Linked DNA regions of Homo sapiens: region 1 is linked to region 2. Evidence: promoter capture Hi-C in human tissues and cell types (Jung and others, 2019). All regions are on one chromosome and are shown on one strand. The core of a region is centred on a gene start or on the middle of the fragment in contact, and the rest is flanking DNA. Distances in the headings are between cores, read along the strand shown.

Evidence for each region. The method cuts DNA at HindIII sites, captures the fragments that hold promoters and counts their contacts. A contact is called where the count stands out against the background at its distance.
Region 1: a fragment that was not itself captured here is called in contact with the fragment with the promoter of ZNF750 in region 2 in 3 of the 25 tissues and cell types used here (dorsolateral prefrontal cortex, lymphoblastoid cells and spleen).

Annotation. Positions count from the first base shown.
Region 1 is chr17:82,798,493-82,801,192 of GRCh38, reverse strand. TBCD (tubulin folding cofactor D) reads right to left here. Exons shown (of 39, transcript NM_005993.5): 9 at 197-329. Among named protein-coding and RNA genes, the nearest start is that of ZNF750, 40 kb to the left of the region's middle. The HindIII fragment of the contact is 8,431 bases long and covers 1-2,700 here.
Region 2 is chr17:82,838,751-82,841,450 of GRCh38, reverse strand. It overlaps ZNF750 (zinc finger protein 750), which reads left to right and starts at 1,429. Exons shown (of 3, transcript NM_024702.3): 1 at 1,429-1,524. All of the region lies in intron 13 of TBCD (tubulin folding cofactor D), which reads right to left. The HindIII fragment of the contact is 7,618 bases long and covers 1-2,031 here.

The DNA.
Region 1 (2,700 bases), core at 56-2,555, 40 kb after region 2:
CAACTGTGTCCAGAACCAAGGCGCCTGCCTCCCCACCCCATGGCGCCTGCCTCCCCCACCCCGCAACAGGGCGACTGCCTCCCCACAGCACCTGCCCCAACAGCACCTGCCCCGCCCTCATCAATGGCGCCTGCCCCCCACAGCAACCCCTCCCCACCCCGTGGCCCTCCCCAGGCACCGCCCTCATGGTGCCTACCTCCATGCTGCCACCTTCGGCTTCAGGAATGTCAGCCCCAGTCGCTGCACAAGCTTCACCCCCAGCTTCCGCAGCAGGGTCTGGTTGCTCTCAGGGAGTCTGCAGCCATCGAGGCACCTGAGGACAGTGGCAGCTGCAAACAAGAACTGGACTCAGCGCAGGAAGGGCTGCAGGCATCTTCTGACTGCACCACCTGTGTCCCCGAAACCAACAGCCGGCTCCACAGGGGCCTTGAGGCAGGAGACATCACCAAGACCCCCATCATCCCAAATCATGAACCAAGAGCTGCTGGAGTTGAACCTACTCGACTTCCTTGCTGTGAAGCAACATCAGTGGAGGTCAGGAGAGCAAGTACTCAGAGGGCAGGGAGCCAATCTGAAGGGGGGCAGCACACACAAAGGCCCAACCGACCACAGGCACACTGCAGCCACGGAGACCCCACAGGCCACGGGCATCCTGCGGCCACAGAGACCACGCAGGCCACGGGCATGCTGTGGCCGGGGAGAACACACAGGCCACAGGGCACACTGCAGCAACCCCAGAAGCCATGGAGCACACTGCGGCTGGGGAGAACACACAGGCCACGGGGTTCCTGTGGCTTGCTCTGTTTTTCAGGGGGAATCACTCGGTGTCATGCAGTGATGACAATAGCAGGACAGGAGGCTGAGCCAAGGGGAGGCTCAAGGTAGCACTGGGCACAGCACGACAGGGAGAGCCTGCGAGCAGGAGACGCCCGGGTGCTGCGACGAGGGCAAGCTGAGGCCAGGAGGACAGCATTCCCGGGACAGACAAGGGCTGGGGTGGAAGTGCATGGCGGCTTCAGAGATGGGCTGGAAGTGAAATGGACAAGACTGCAACCAACTGACAGGGGACAGGAGAAAAGAAGAGAAGCTGAAGACAGAGCTGAGAGTTAGGTGAGGTGATGGAAGACAAGGAGATGGAGGAAGGGGCAGTGGGGCGGGGACAGAGCAGGGGGATGGGGGCTGGAGCTGCAGTGCCCTGCAGGAAGCTCTGCCTTGAGGCTGGGAAATGACAGAAAGTGAACGTTCACCAGTTTTATGTGGGTGCCGTGACCTCGGGCAGAGGTGCCGTTTAACTCATAATGCTTGCCTATAAAACCAGGTCAGCTGAAAGAGCATCTGAGTAACTTCTCAGAAGGCTCTGACAGTGGGCACAATGAGCGTGGGTGACAAGCACGACAGCCCAAGAGGGAGGTCTGTGTTCACGTCACCAAGGACGCTCCTCCCGCCGACAGGGCCTGGCAACGGCTGCTCGCGTTCTCGGGTGTGGTGAGGACATAAAGAGCCCCACCTTCCAGAGACATGTATGGAAGTACACACAGGTGAGATGGCACTGTGTGTCCCTCCTGTGCGGTGCAGGGATGAAACAGGCTGCACACGAAAACTCGCACACTCCTGAGAGAGACACGGGGCGTGCACGCCATTCTCTCTTCTTTATACATGTTTCAAATTTTCCATAATGAAAAACTTTCAAAAAAAGAAAGTTATTCAAATTTGATATTCGGATAGTTTCTTTTTTTTTTTTTTTTTTTTTTGAGACAGAGTCTTGCTCTGTCGCCAGGCTAGAGTGCTGTGGCGCGATCTCAGCTCACTGCAACCTCCAACTCCCTGGCTCAAGGGATTCTCCTGCCTCCGCCTCCCGAGTAGCTGGGATTACAGGCATGTGCCACCATGCCCAGCTAATTTTTGTATTTTTAGTAGAGATGGGGTTTCACTATGTTGGCCAGGCTGGTCTCGATCTCCTGACCTCGTGATCCACCCGCCTCAGCCTCCCAAAGCGCTGGGATTACAGGCGTGAGCCACAACGCCCAGTCCGGATAGCTTCTAAAACACACAAAGGCTCTAAGAAGTTTCTCTTTTTCCAGATGGTAAACCTCTGCGTGGAGAAAAACACTGCCCTTATTTTCAGAAATTGAGGCTCAATCTAAAATTAAGAGAATTGAGCCAGGCGTGGTGGCTCATACCTTTAAGCCCAGCACTTTGGGAGGCCAAGGCAGGGCAGATCACTTGAGCCCAGGAGTTCAAGACCAGCCTGGACAGCACAGCAAGACCCCACTGCTAAAAAAATTAGCCGGGCGTGGTAGAGCTCGCCTGTAGTCCCAGCCACTCAGGGGGCTGAGGTGGGAGGATGGCTTGAGCCCAGGAGGTCGAAGCTGCAGTGAGCTGTGTCATGTATTCCAGCCTGGGCGACACAGTAAGATGCAGTCTCAAAAAGAATAAATTAAGAGAATTAGGAAGAAGGCAAAAGAGGTGGTGGCTGTGGCTATCAGAGGAACATGGCTGCTCCTGGGCCCCAAGAAGCCAGGTCCAACCTCAGATCATGACACGGGCTTTGCCCAGACCTCCCTCACGAGACCCCTGGCAGCAATCCCTCTTTATCAAAGGACTAGGAAAGTGACAAAAAGTCCAGTTATTACGCCTGTAATCCCAGCACTTTGGGAGGCCGAGGCAGGCAGATCACTAGGTCAGCAGTTCAAGACTAGC
Region 2 (2,700 bases), core at 180-2,679:
AGCTACTGGGGAGACTGAGGCGGGAGGATCACTCGAGTCCAGGAGGTTGAGGCTACAGTGAACCGTGATCGCACCACTGCACTCCAGCTTGGGTGACAGGGCAAGACCCTGTCTCAAAAGAAAAAAAAAAGGAATTAAATATAAAAGTAAACGCAAAGCCATGTAAAATCTTAAGTCTTAAGGAAAAAAATAACAAAAACAAAAAAACAGACCGGGTGCAGTGGCTCACACCTGTAATCCAAGCACTTTGGGAGGCCGACGTGGGTGGATCACAAGGTCAGGAGATCAAGACCATCCTGGCTAACACGGTGAAACCCCATCTCTACTAAAAATACAAAAAATTAGCCGGGCGTGGTGGCAGGCGCCTGTAGTCCCAGCTACTCGGGAGGCTGAGGCAGGAGAAACGCAGTGAGCCAAGATCATGCCATTGCACTCCAGCCTGGGCAGCAACAGTGAAACTCTGTCTCAAAAAAAAAAAAAAAAAAAAAAAAAAAAACCAGTTTGTCTGTCCTGGCCAGCTCGTCCCTATGCCACAGCCCTGCAGCCTCTGCCCTGCAGCCTCAGGCTCATCCAAGGGCCTGACACCAGCTCATCCCACCTCCTTTCCCAGTCCTCAAACCGACACCACATGCCAGCCTTCGCTACAACTGGGGTGCGGCCTCCGATTAAGCAAGCAAGCAGTTTTGGTGGGGGGGTGTGGAGGTAAAAACTGGCCCCCAAGTTAAGTGCCTCTGCAATTTAAAGTGGGGGGAGGGTGGTTTGCGGGAGTGCACAGCTGGCCCCCTCCCCCGCACCCACACACCCTGCTCCGCAGCTCTTGCGGTGCCTGGTGTCGGGCAAGCTCCGGCAGGTCCCTGCAGCCAGGCTCTGGGATAAGCTCCCTCCCTGCCGGCTCAGCTCCTGAGGAGGACCAGGGACAGAGACTCTCAGGAGCAGGGTAGAGGGTGGAAGGTCCACAGATCCTCAAAGGCCTCACTGGACCTCATGGCAAGGACGCCATGAATACTGTGCCTCCCAGGGTATGCGCGCTTGAGAATCAATCCAAGTGTTTGCCTCCTGCGTACACATGCTCAAGTTCTAAAGGAAAGTCTCACATGTCTTTATCATGACGCCAAATATTCATCGGGTGTGATTCTGATGAATATAGTAATCTCTATTCTAACTGCGGACACATCGAAAGCCCTCTGACATATGGCCGTCCAGGCAGCACCGACGCCGCACTCACAGACAGTTGAGTCTGGAGACAGCGCTGGGAGTCGGCGAGATAACTTGCTTGCTGGGTCCAGTGCTGGGGAGGCTGCCCGCAGCAGCTCGGTGGGTGCAAACACATGAATCGTAGCTGCGGGCAGGAGGAATATCAGGTGCATCTCTACGCCCCGAGGGCTCAACTCCTACACTTAAATCCCTCCCACTGGAACAGCAGGCTCCAGTTTCACCCAGCAAGCGTGAGAACAGGTACTGCTTCCTGAGCACCGCCAGCCACCGGCACCAAGACCGGCCACATCCCAGCACTGCCCACCTCTGGTAAGTACTCACTATTTCTTTTCAAATTCAAGTTTTATTTTAAAACTCTTCTCAGACGTATCTAAAATACCCAGCTGAACGCAGCGTTTGCTCCGTGTCTGCTCTGCCTTGCTCTGGGCTCCGAGGATTACTCAGGACCCAGCAGGTGCATGGCTGGGATGCAGACCACGATTACAAAACTTCTAATGAGGCTGACACTTTATTCTAAGAACATGAACAAGCTTATCTGGAAATTAACTCCTTGTTCTGCCCTAAAATTCATAAAAGTTAAACCAACACAAATTCATATTATTGCTTAACTGCTCCTAACCTCAAAAACAAACTACAATAAATGCTAACAAGAGGTAAGGGTCATATATATATGTGTGGTGTATGTACATTAGGGTGAATTTAGGGTTATATGTGTGGTGTATGTACATTAGGGCTGAATTTAGGGTTATATATATGTGTGGTGTATGTACATTAGGCTGAATTTAGGGTTATATATGTGTGGTGTATGTACATTAGGGCTGAATTTAGGGTTATATATATGTGTGGTGTATGTACATTAGGCTGAATTTAGGGTTATATATATGTGTGTGTGGTATATGTACATTAGGCTGAATTTAGGGTTATATATGTGTGGTATAAGTACATCAGGCTGAATTTAGGGTTATATATATGTGTGGTGTATACACATTAGACACAGCTGAATTTAGGGTTATATGTTTGTGGTGTATGCACATTAGACAGTGCCGAATTTACTATCTAGTTTAACTTTTAATAGTTTTAAAGTTTAAAATAAGTACATAAGCTTACATGAAGTTTAAAATTGGGCATAAGCTTTCGAAAACAAAACCAAACCAAAGGGGTTAAGTTTCTGTTTGGTTGTTAAGGTCTTCTGTACATATAGACACAGATACAAAAGGGTTTTTTTCCTTATATGAAATTTCTCATAAACTTGATTTGGAGGAGAACAATTACTGACCAAGCACAGTCCGTCCACATCTGTGCCCCTAATTTTCACTGCGCATTAGCAAAGGCCTTCCAGCATTTCTGACCGGAGTTTCAGGATGAGGCGGCGACTGTAAAGTGGTGAGCGTTTGTTTACGAGCTCAGGTCTGTAACTCGGGATCTCCTGCCGAAACTAGAGTTAAGAGCCCCTGGTTGTTTTTCTGGATCCATTCTTCCAAATTA